Regions from separate parts of the Homo sapiens genome. Here region 1 is linked to region 2. The links are contacts of gene promoters, found by promoter capture Hi-C in blood cells and fetal thymus (Javierre and others, 2016). All regions are on one chromosome and are shown on one strand. Each heading gives the region's core, a stretch centred on a gene start or on the middle of the fragment in contact. The rest is flanking DNA. Distances are from core to core; before and after follow the strand shown.

The links. Contacts are between HindIII fragments. The CHiCAGO score rates a contact against its expected background, and 5 or more counts as called.
Region 1: a contact is called between a fragment that was not itself captured here and the fragment with the promoter of DCUN1D5 in region 2, in 1 of 17 cell types (total CD4 T cells). The highest score is 5.1, in total CD4 T cells.

Annotation. Positions count from the first base shown.
Region 1 is chr11:101,918,911-101,925,582 of GRCh38, reverse strand. CEP126 (centrosomal protein 126) reads right to left here. Exons shown (of 11, transcript NM_020802.4): 2 at 2,823-2,942. Among named protein-coding and RNA genes, the nearest start is that of ANGPTL5, 5.7 kb to the right of the region's middle. The HindIII fragment of the contact is 5,772 bases long and covers 1-4,443 here.
Region 2 is chr11:103,088,680-103,094,705 of GRCh38, reverse strand. It overlaps DCUN1D5 (defective in cullin neddylation 1 domain containing 5), which reads left to right and starts at 2,546. Exons shown (of 8, transcript NM_032299.4): 1 at 2,546-2,919; 2 at 5,388-5,479. The coding sequence starts at 2,834. RefSeq lists enhancers at 2,092-2,141, 2,212-2,261, 2,191-2,808, 2,809-3,426 and a silencer at 2,952-3,246. The HindIII fragment of the contact is 604 bases long and covers 2,343-2,946 here.

The DNA.
Region 1 (6,672 bases), core at 308-2,807, 1.2 Mb after region 2:
TGGCCAAGCTGGTCTTGAACTCCTGACCTCGTGATCCACCCACCTCAGCCTCCCAAAGTGCTAGGATTACAGGTGTGAGTCACCACGCCCGGCCAGATAATTGCCGGTAAACTTTTCTAAAGTTTACTGGTAGAACAGATTAACAAAATAAATTCTTTTCCTGACATAATGTTGAATCATTTGTGCTCACTGAATTCTCCATGTTGAGTGAATAAATGCCCATTCACGTATTTACCAAAAGATAGTTCTGGTTGGTGGACTGAAAAAGCAGGAAATAAGCCAGTTTATTTCCTTTCTGTGTGTGTATCTCAAAATTCCTTGGTCTACAAAGAAGCATATTAGAAAGTAACTTGAGGATGTACTCCAGCAAACTAATGGAATACAAAGAACAAACAAACAAAGGGATGCTATGAGAGGCAAAAAATTATGGCTCCAACTCCTAAGAGCAATAAAAGAAAGTTCTGGGATGCCAGTTGTGCAATAGGCCTAAAAGATAACCAGCATCTACTGGAGCCGGAAACAAAGGGGACTTGGAGGGAAACAAAGGGGACTCCATTGTATAGATACTGACTGAGAGAATGGAAAACTTGAGGATGTGATAAAAGCATACAATGCAAGAAAAATATTGGCTAATAGAAATGCAATAAATAATAAGAAAATAAAAATGTGTGTGATTTAAAGCAACTAATGAAAATAAAGAGAACTTGATGCTAGGAACATTTTCCTTTGACTTCTGCTGGACACATAACACTGACAATGTCAATGTATAACTGACAAATGGCAGGAGACTGTCTCTACCTGAAGAAAATACTATTTAAAAAAAAAACCCAAAACCACCTATAATCCCAGCACTTTGGGAGGCTGAGATGGGAGGATCACTTGAGGTCAGGAGTTCAAGACCAGCCTGGCCAACATGGCGAAACCTTGTCTCTATGAAAAACACAAAAAAATTAGCCGGGCACGGGGGTGCGTGCCTGTAATCCCAGCTATTCGGGGGGTTGAGGCAGGGGAATCGTTTGAATCTGGGAGGCGGAGGTTGCAGTGAGCTGAGATTGTGCCCCTGTACTCCAGCCTGAGTGACAGAGTGAGACTCCATCTCAAAAAAACAAAACAAAACAAAAAACCACACACACACACACACACAGCCCCAAAACAACAACAAAACAAAAAAATCCTCTGTGACCACAATGTAAGTGGACAGCATAAACTTAAATGATGTAAAGTATAAATTGATAGACAATGGCATGGTTAAGAAGACCATAATCATAGACAGCTTCTGAAATTCGGATGTGCACAAATAATTCAGCCCCCTTATAAAAGGTGAAATACAGAGACAAATGATTAGTGTTTTAAAAGAAATGTTTATGTATCTTTACATTGCACTTTAGGGTAACGGAAAATAAAACACAATAATATTGTATTGGAAAATGTCCTGCCTCTTAGAATTTTAAACCAAGATTTCTTTTCTGTTATTTTCTACATAAGAATTCTTACATTTGATGAGAGAATACAAATAGAAAATTTATTAATAAAATTCCATAAAGGCTTGCTATTAAAGTTGATTATTGTAAAATAAACAACTGATAAACATTAATAATAAAAAATAAGAAGTCCTATGTGTCAGACACTGATATTTTTACATGTATTCTCAAATATTCCACTTTATTTCTACCCTTTCTGCTCTACACCAAAATCCCTTGAAATAGATGTAATTAATTCCAATCATAAATGAGAAAACTGAGGCTTAAAGACATTAAACAGACATCCTTTAATTCATAGAGCTAGTATTTCCTAGATCTCTGACTCCAAAGTCCATTACTCTTTCAACATATGATTATTCATCTTTACTGAACACCTGTCACACGCCGTTTATAGATGCCAGGAGCCCAAAGGTAGGAGAAAAGCAGAAACCTATGCATACAAAATAAAATTCTAAATTTCAGTAAATAATTTCAACTACATCAGACAATAAAAAAGTTAATCTGAAGAGAAACATAATGCCAGGCAAAAATTACAGGTAAACAATTTTTTATTCCCCAAATGGGATTTGTTAACATATGCCCAGTGATGTAGTTAATAAAGTCTAGGGATTTTCTGCTATTCATATATTGTAGAAATATGGACAAGGTAGCAAAAACAACAATTAAAAAATGGCATAACTGCTCTGTCTCAAAAAAAGCCTAATATTTAAAAAACATCCTGAAAAATGTTAAGCAGTGATTGAACAATTTGTACTTTTTCTTTACTATAGTTTCTAGTTTACCCTAGAAAGCTCCTTTTTCTAGCATTCACTTATAAAACATTTCTACCACTTCTACTGTTATTCATATTGCTACCATTATTCATATTTTTCCAATTTTTATACCATTATTCATATTTTTTCCAATTTTTCAGATTGAACGAATGAAAAGTGGCAGATATAGAAAAATTATATAGAAGTGAATAACAAATTAAACTCAAACTATATACCAAAAGACTAAATATTAATTGGTAATTTTAAAATCATCATGAAATCATGAAATGATACAAAAAAAGAAGATAATACATTTCATAGTCATTTTAAGAAGTGTATATGACAATGCAATAAGCTGTTCTATGACAAAAAAAGACTGCTACTGTCAGAGACCTAGATAATACACCACCACCCTTGTGCTTTGGGAAGGAAAACAATAATAAAATTTACAAAGCCACACAAATCTTGATCAATGTTTCACAGATAACACTGCCATGACTTAGTTTCATAAAGTGCTACAAAGTAGAGAAACTATTACTTTATATTGACTTTGAATTTCTATACTTCTGAATAAAGTGCAATTACTTACTTTTTTCTCCGATTTGACTCCACAAAATATTTACGTGCTCGATTTCGACATATTTTTTGTTGCTGCAGTAATATCTGGCGCTCTTCTTCTAAATTTTTCTCCAGATGGATTTTCATATCTCTAATGATAGCATTAAGTTAAGAACAATGGTCTACATCTTTAGTGGATGACTGTCAGTGCTATATGATAAATATAACTACAGCCTCATGCAAATGATGTAATGATAGTTTTTGTGGAATAATTAGTATGTGCCCACATTAGTATATGACTGGCAAACATTTTATGTAAAAAAAATTCGGGGCTGGGTGCGGTGGCTCACACCTGTAATCCATCACTTTAGGAGGCTGAGGCAGAAAGATCACGAGGTCAGTAGGTCAAGACCCGGCTGGCCAACGTGGCAAAACCCCGTCTCTACTAAAAATACAAAAATTAGCTGGACGTGGTGGTGCATGCCTGTATTCCCAGCTACTTGGGAGGCTGAGGCAGGAGAATCGCTTGAACCCGGGAGGCGGAGGTTGCAGTGAGCCAAGGTTGTGCCATTGCACTCCAGTCTGGGTGACAAGAGCAAGACTCCATCTCAAAAAAAAAAAAAAAAATTCTGACTTGGTATTAGAAAGTAAGATATAGCTCACTTTTCCTGGAGAAAAAAAATCTACTTTTAGAAATCATGAGCTCAGGCTGGGCGCGGTGGCTCACACCTGTAATCCCAACACTTTGGGAGGCTGAGGCGGGTGGATCACCTGAGGTCAGGAGTTTGAGACCAGCCTGGCCAACACGGTGAAACCTGTCTCTACTGAAAACACAAAAATTAGGCGGGCGTGGTGGCGGGTACCTGTAATCTCAACTACTCAGGAGGCTGAGGCAGGAGAATCTCTTGAACCTGGGAAGCAGAGGTTGCAGTGAGCCGAGATTGCGCCACTGCATTCCAGCCTGGGCAACAAAAGCGAAACTCCATCTCAAAAAAAAAAAAAAAAAAAAAAAAAGAAATCATGAACTTCAGATAAAGAGGACTGTATATCTTCATTCATTACACAGTTTTTTTTTTTTTTTTTTTGAGACAGAGTCTCACTCTGTTGCCCAGGCTGGAGTGCAGTGGCATGATCTTAGCTCACTGCAACCTCTGCCTCCTGGGTTCAAGTGATTCTTCTGCCTCAGCCTCCCAAGTAGCTGGGACTACAGGCATGTGCCACCACACCTAGTCAATTTTTGTATTGTCAGTAGAGACGGGGTTTCACCATGTTGGTCAGCCTGGTCTCGAACTCCTAACCTCAGGTGATCCACCTGCCTCGGCCTCCCATAGTGGTGTGATTACAGGCGTGAGCCACCGTGCTTGGCCTCATTACACAGATATTTGAGTACTTACTAACAAGTTGCCCTCATAGTCATGAATATAAGAAAATGAAATAAGAAGATTGTATTTTACTAATAGAAAGTAGATGGAGTAAATGTTTCACCAGATCCCTTAATCTATAGTAGGAAAGTACATTTTCAAATATTAAACAATCAAATAGCAATATAACTAGAATGGTTAGGAATACAGTTTAGTTATTTACTTAGTGACTTAGTGGTTATAAAAAACCACTAGGAAAACTATGTATAGTCATCTGTGTATCCAGAAGCTTGTCAGAGAAAAAGAGGAATATTTTGGTTATCCTAATCATCTATTCACTTGAAATTTATTTTATAAAATTAAACTCTCCTTAAATAAGTTGTAGCAATATGAGTAATTTCTCCAATTTATTTAGTTGCGTTTTAATTGACATTATTAAGTATCTTTATCAAATTTGTCAGAGTAATTTTCTGTTTTTCATGAGTCTTCTGTTTTTAATGATTTTGAATTAAAAGAAGTTCATTTGGCTGGGCGCAGTGGCTCACACCTGTAATCCCAACAATTTGGGAGGCCAAGGTGGGCAGACTGCTTGAGCCCAGGAGTTTGAGATGAGCCTGGGCAATATGGTGAAACCCCGGCTCTACAAAAAATGCAAAAATCAGCCAGGTGTGGTGGTGTATGCCTGCAGCCCCAGCTACTTGGGAGGCTGATGTGGGAAGATCGCTTGAGCTTGGAGGGGGTTGAGTCTGCAGTGAGCTAAGAACACGCCACTATACTCCAGCCTGGGCAACACAGCGAGACTCTGTCTCAAAAAAAAAAAAAAAAGTTCATTGAATTACCGTGTAATCACATTTAGTACCTCATCATTAGATGTAGAAATATATGAGATTATACTGAAGTTATAGATTGTAGGGCATATCTATTTGTCTTTTTTAGAACAAACAGCTTGTTTAAAAACTTTTTACGCTAAGATGGAGGTCCAAAATTCTCTTTAAAGGCTGCATTTAATCAAGATTGTAAAAATCTCATAAATTGATTATTAATGGTAAAACAGAATACTAGAAATACACTCAATAATAAACTATGCGGTACATAATTTGTTAATTCAACATGTTAATTTCAGGATCCTATAGTGCTTCAGCATCAATATTATAAAGAAACTCTATTATTACATATTTCAGAATAACAGGTTTATTTGAACATTTTGTTGTTTAGACCTTTGCTGATGGGGGCTTATTTGTTTTCTTTTGTGTTGCTATTTAACCATCTTTATACCATAGGCCATAATTCATTTTACCTTCATTTTAAATAAAATTTTACACTACTTCAAGACAAAGACCCAAACACACTCACAAACATATTTTTACTTAAAGATTTCTTTTAAAGGATTTATAAAAATCAAACCAAAAGGGAAGAAAATTTGGTTCTTTGCTAGCACAGAAAAACTGTTTTTCTCTGATAGAATATTTTAACAAGAGCCAGACTTCAACAAGATGTCTAGGTATTAAAAGTGACAACTCGGCAGTAAAGAAAAGTGCAACTTCCTTTCAGGGTGCACAGGGCCAACATGAGGTTGAGGGGAGGAAGATGCTTTGGCTTAAGTGAGAAGCAAGGAGGAGACAGTTCTGTTCTCTGTTTGACATGTTTGAAGTCTCATCACGACAGCATAAAGAAAATCACAAATGTAATGTTTGTAATGTTCTGACAACTATATAGTCTTCAATTTAACCAAATGATTTTCTACTTTCTTTATATATAAGTATAATAGTATAGTATGTTTCCTGCTGAATTATTAATTATTAATATAAAGAATCCTGCTGCTTTTGTATCATTTCAAATATGGTATTCAAGTTTAAAAAAATTAGATGGCTGGTTAAATTTTGTTTTTTTATACAAGCTGTATGGTAAAGGTAGGAGTTCCATAAAAAAAACACTGCTAAATACCTGTCCAAAAGAAGGGAATTTTTATATACTTAACATTAAAAAAACAAAACCAAGAATAATATGTATTGTAACATGTGATTTTAAAGCATAGCTTATTCTACCCCACTCTATCCTCACTTCTCCTCTCCCAACTTAGTCTTTTATCCAGTTAGGTTGTTTAAAATGTTGCCATCACAAATAACTATGTATTATATAACCCATTTTTTCCCCAAATCTATTAAAGCTATGTTGATTCGATTTTTCCTCTACTGTACCTTCTTCCTCTCCCTTAACTCAGGTACTCTAAATCCCTTGCTTGGACGACTACAGTGCTCCTCTAATTCTTCTTACTCTAAACCTCTATTTGAACCTACACAAAGTCAGCTAAATGCAAATCTGATTGTGTTTCTCTTTGTTGTTCTCCAAAAGCTCCCTATCACCTTCATGAAAAATTCCAAAGTTCTTGGACCTATATATAAACCATTCTATAATATAGTTTGTTTTTTCAACTTTATTTCTTAACATTTCCCTGTATGAATCCTATGTCCAGACGCACTAAGATAATTATAAACAGAACAACCCGTGATGTATCATACC
Region 2 (6,026 bases), core at 1,297-3,796:
AATTTTAACACAATTGTATTTGTGTATCTCAACATACCTCAACATAGAAAAGGCACAGTAAAAATACAGTATTATAATCTTAAGGGACTATCATCGCATATGCACATCTTGACCAAAATGTCATTACGTGGTGCATGACTGTATTTCTCCCTCCAGACTGGCAGCTCCATGATTGCAGGAGTCATGTCTGCCTTTTATATTCTTAAGCCCAGTAAAGCTCCTGGTTGAAGTGATGATTAAATATTTTTTGAATAGATAGACTAAATGAATACCACACATAGATCCAGCCTTTTGTCTTTTTCTCAGAGTATTCTATGGGTGTGAGTAAGCTCCTATCCAGTTACTGCATTCAGCTCAATGTCCAGGATTTCCAGGTATAGTGGGGTCTTCCTTAGTTCGAAAGTGATTCCTTATGGTCCAATGGCCTATGAACTAAGAAGCAATAATCTACTTCCCACTCTCGCCCAATAAATAATGGTGAAGAAGGGACACAATTATCACAATAAAAAAATTCCTATTTAAAAAAGAACAGAAGATGAGATGTGCAGTGGTCTTTGGTCTATAGCAATGCTGGTAGCCTGCAAGACAGGCATTATGAAATTCCCTACTCTTTGATCAGGCCCTGATTCTACTCTGTGGAAGGACACCCCTTTAACATCATCCTCTGAGATCTTTCTTTCTATCCTTTAGGTTTTATTCCATTTCTTTGGTCCTCCTTGGGAAAAGGGGCTGTTTAGCTTTTGCAGCTCACCAGTTGAAGAAATAAGTTTGGCTATCTCTAATAGTTTTGTCATTATCATTTATTTTGTGTTTTGTTTTGCACATTTTATATAAATTTTATTTAGGAAGAATATGCATAAAAATATCAATTTTTAAGTGTACAATTCAATGAATTTTGACAAGTATATATACTATTACTTCAATCAAGACATAGAATATGTTCATTACCCAAAAAGTTCCCTTGTGTTTCTTTGCAGTCAGTCTTCCCCGGCTTACTCCATCCCTGTCCCCAAGTGTCACTGATATGCCATTGCTATAAGTAAGTTTTACATGTTCTAGAATTTCATCAAATATCCAGCCAGCATTAACATCTCCAATTGCCACAGAGATGTTATCATATTGTTTAAACTGTTTGTGTGAGTCAAATTCAAATAAGAACTGCATACTGAAAATGATTGACATATCCTTTAAGTCTTTTAATTTCCTTCTCTCTCCTCTCGTCCTAATAATTTGTTGCAGAATTTGGGTCATTGTCCTGTAGACTTTTCTGACGTCTAGATATTGCTGATTGCATTGGGTATTTAACATGTTCCTCTGTCCTGTACTTTTTGTAGATGGTAGTTCTATTTAGAGACTTTATCTGATTCTGTTTTGATTTTGGCCTCAGGCATTTTTAAATGGGTTGAAGGATCATATACTTTGACATTCTTTTGGTTTTAAGTAACAGAGAATTGAACTAAATATGCAAAATAGTGAAATTTGTTGCTTCACATAAGTGAAAATTCCAGGGCATATCATGGATTTTGGGCTCATATCATATAATCACATCCTGGTTTTTCTATTTTTCTGCTTGATACTAGTCTCTTCTGAGTTTTGGCTTCATTCTCCATACCTTCTCTGGTTCAAATCCATAGGAAATAAAATTGCTTTCTGGTGGTTCAATTTTGTGTCATTGGCACTCATTGGCCTGGCCTGAGTATGTGTCCATCCTGAACCAATTAATAACACTAAGGAAATATGATATTCGGATTGACCAGATTAGGGTGCCATTGTGAGGGTAGTTTCACAGGAACCACTTCAACTATTACTCAAAGACTTTTAGTCTTCTCCCATCACAGTTGGTTTGCAGAGATTATTTTACCAACAGAATTACTAACGACTTTCTACTATGTCTTTACATACAATAACCATTATTTAAAAACAGTATTTCCACCTAAGTGGAGATGAATAGATTACAGTGTGTTTTGGGTCTAGGGGGAGGTTCCTTAGAACTGTCCCCCAAATTTCTCTCTACTGAGTCGCAGTCACCTACTGTCTCTTATCGGAGAGGTGAGCTCTGTGGAAATAATGGCAGAGCTAAGTTTCAATACAGGACAAAGTGATATGCAAAGGTAGGGAGAAGGGGGAGTGGGTGGCTGATCACAGGCCCATAAAAAAAACACGCAAGACACAGGGTGACAATGCATTTACGGGGTGGGAACACTTCAGGTGAGGTTATCGTGTGGAAGAGCTCAGAAGTGGAACTTGGTCTACTTTACCAGGTTGTTTTTAACGTCAACTGCAAAGTATTAGTAGTTTCACTTTTTGGCGGTGACTGCCAGCATCAGAGCGCGGTAGAAGCTTCATGAGAAAGGTCAGGATACCCTGGACAGGATACAAGAATTCCGCGGACTGCCGCAGTCGACGGGTCAGACAGCTTCGCTCTGCCTGGCCTACCTACGAGTGGCAGAGGCTAACCGGAACCACGCCCCTTCCCGGGACCGGCTCCGCGATTGCGTCACTTCCGGGCCTCAGCGATTCGCCTCCGGGTTAGGCTGAGCCTCTTGCTTGCTGTGACTGGTGGAGCTGCCGCGCTGTCCGCGTTATCTCCTCCCGGTGAGAACGAACCGCAGTGTCCACCGGCGAGGAGCCAGCCCTGTCCCGGTCAGAGAAAGACGACGAGGATACCTGGGAGCGGGCGGCGGCCGGGCTGGGCCGCGCCGGTGCGGGCTGGCGACTCTGCTCCTCCGCTTGCTGCTGTCTCTGGGAACTGGGTGCCAGCGCTGAGGGGCTTCCAGCGGACAGGGACCCCCTTCCCCGGCTCCCCTGCCCACCCTGCCGGGGAGGGCGGAAGATGCCGGTGAAGAAGAAGAGAAAATCCCCTGGGGTGGCAGCAGCAGTAGCGGAAGACGGAGGCCTCAAAAAGTGTAAAATCTCCAGGTACCATCTCCCCCCACCCTTCAAGCTTCCCTCCTCCCTCCTTTGCTGGACAACTGGAGGAAAAGGAGTCGGGCCCGGCCTGCCGGGCTGGGGCTGGAGACAGGTGAGGCCCCTTTGATCGAGCTAGGCTGTAGGTGCCGAACACCGCGAGTCTCCGCGCCCGACCCGACCTCGTGTTCGAGTGTGTGCACGCTGGCGTTTATGGAGAGACTAGAAGAGCCGCCCACGTTAAGAGTCTACGTGCCCTGCAGGGTGGGGAACAGATGCATATGTAAATTGCGCTTCCCCCCACCCCCACCCCCACCCCACAACCGACCCTCGATCCCCTACTCCCGTATCGCTCCTCTGCCTTTTTCTAGACTTAGAAGTGAGTACATATCCGCAGAAGGGTCACTTCTAGAATTTCTTTGTAGAGTGTGAAGAAAGCAGAACATAAGGAATCTTGACAACTGTCTTGGGAATGGTAGAAAGGAAAACTTGTATGCTATAATTGGCCTCCATATTTAGTATTTGGAGTGGCCTAACCCGGAAGGTCCCAGCAGGAGGCCTTTTAAATTGCAGGAGCCCCATTTTCTGGAAGTATAGTGCCTCACCTATGCCAAGTCCCTGTGTGCAGAGTTGGAAAGGCCCTGCATGCTTTTTGTCTTCTAGCATTCAGGACGCTGTTAGCTCTCAGCATAAATTAAATAATTTGTGAGCTCTTGTACTCTGTCCTACTGGTAAGAAAGAAGACAAGGCAGAACTATATAGTAGTAGCTCTTTGATCCCCTTGTAGCATATCATGGAGGCATCACAGCAAAATTTATGCTACAAAAAAACTGCAATTTTGGTTTGAGAAATGGTTTTTTTGTTTTTTTGTTTTGTTTTGTTTTTCTGAGACGGAGTCTTCCACTGTTGTCCAGGCTGGAGTGCAGTGGCGCGATCTCCGCTTACTGCAACCTCCGCCTCCCGGGTTCAAGCGATTCTCCTGCCTCAGCCTCCTGAGTAGCTGGGATTATAGGCGCCCGCCACCACGCCCTGCTAATTTTTTGTATTTTTAGTAGAGACGGGGTTTCACTATGTTGACTAGGCTGGTCTTGAACTCCTGACCTCGCGATCCGCCCGCCTCGGCCTCCCAAAGTGCTGGGATTACAGGAGTGAGCCACCTCGCCCGACTGAGAAATGCTTTTTTAAAAAATAACCATATTAGCTGCCTTTTCATCAATGGTTGGCACTTGATATGACAACTTCAGATGCTACTATTGAAAGGAGACTGTAGCCAGGATTATAAGAAGGAAATAATGATAGAGCTCTCCTTAAAGAGAGATCTGCTTAAACTGTGAGGTAGATGACTTACATAGTCTGCATCTTCTTTTTTGTAATTGGTCGACTTTTTTCCCTCATTACTGTGTTTTGGTAAAGGAGTCTATGGAGTATTAGGCTATTAATGTGAACGATGATACATACACCTCTTGTTTGTCAACATTAGAATTTGACATGGTTACTTTAGTAGCTCACATTTTTATAAGATACAGGCAAATTATTATTCATTTTTGTACTATATCATGGCCATCTTAAGTATATAATGTATTAAAATTATTTAAGTTAAGTACATTAAGATAGCTGAGCAGGCAGTATTATTAGAACTCAGGTGATACTTTGCTCTATCAATTTAAATTTTTAAATATGATACTCTTACTTTACTCAGTTACAGAAGTTCTATCATTTCTATATCATTGTGGTAGGGTAATTATTTGAGTTCCTTGAAAAAAGTTTCTCTGAAGGCCATTAAATTCTAGAGGCCATTTTGAACTTACCAAATTTTAGTTATTTTATGAAAAACAATGAAAATGATTTTATGAAAAAAATGAAATAGAATGAACAGAACCTAGGATTAAATAGCCTTGTCCCAATTATTTGGACTATTATTAACTTTTAGTGTTTTTTTGTTGTTTTTTTTAAATCTGTGTAATTTAATATACCCTTAGGTCCTAAGTCATCATTTATCTTTAAAAATCTATTTAAGCTTAGGTGATAAAACAACTCTTAATATAACATTTTATTTTGAAATATTGATTCATTAAGTATCAAAATATACTTTGTAAGAGTTTGTTTTCAAATATTTATCTATTACACACAAATAGAATTTCTATGCAAATCAATAGAATCATAATAAATATTTATACTTTCCCACCTACTAGGTTGAACTTCTTTGTAGTCTTTTAAAATGTGCGGAAATAACTTACTGATATTTTTGGATTTTGATACTGAGTGAAAAGGTATTTGGGTTTTGTTAGCCGATAATTCTTATGTATAGACTACTGTTTCAAGTTGCAATTACTTAACAACTTCAGTTTTTTTCCAACAATGCCAACCGAAGAAAAAAAAAACCTTTGTTTAATGTGAATGGAAGTTGTTAATTTTGAACTTAGTTTTTCTCTAAGAGTTGAGATGTGATAAAAATCTTAGGCGTCTGTGTGTTTTCTAAGCTATTGCAGATCCCAACCCCCTGCTAGACTAATAAGTGGAGAGGAACATTTTTCAAGCAAGAAGTGCCTGGCTTGGTTTTATGAATATGCAGGTAATGAAATTAATATAAGAAGATACTAGTCATATGCTTTAAAAAGTTTATTTGCCTTATTCATTTAACAAATTATCTGTTACAGGCCTGCTATGTGTTAGTGCTGTGTACTGGGATGAGGGTCAGGACTGAAGATTGTGGGTAGACTAAAAATTTGTTGCCAATTTAGGCTGATATTTCTTTAAATATATATTCGGTATATATTTACTGGGAGGGAAGAACTCATTTACTATTAATAAAACGTGTAAACAAAGATTCATTTATTTACATCTATTGGCTAAAGTAGTATTCTGGAAAATAAAAGGTACACAATAAAACATTTTTGTATTTGATATTGTGGAAAACACAAAGTACATAATAAAACATTTCTATTCAATATTCTCTTTTTGAAATTTTTCTGAACTAACATTTTCTGAAACTTTTGGGGAGACATAGTAAAAGATTTAAACCCCTCAGTTATAATTGTACAACACATTTACTTTTTAACAATTATCATTTAGCCATCCACTTCTACTAGAGATGCAATAGTAAGAAAATAAATAGACTG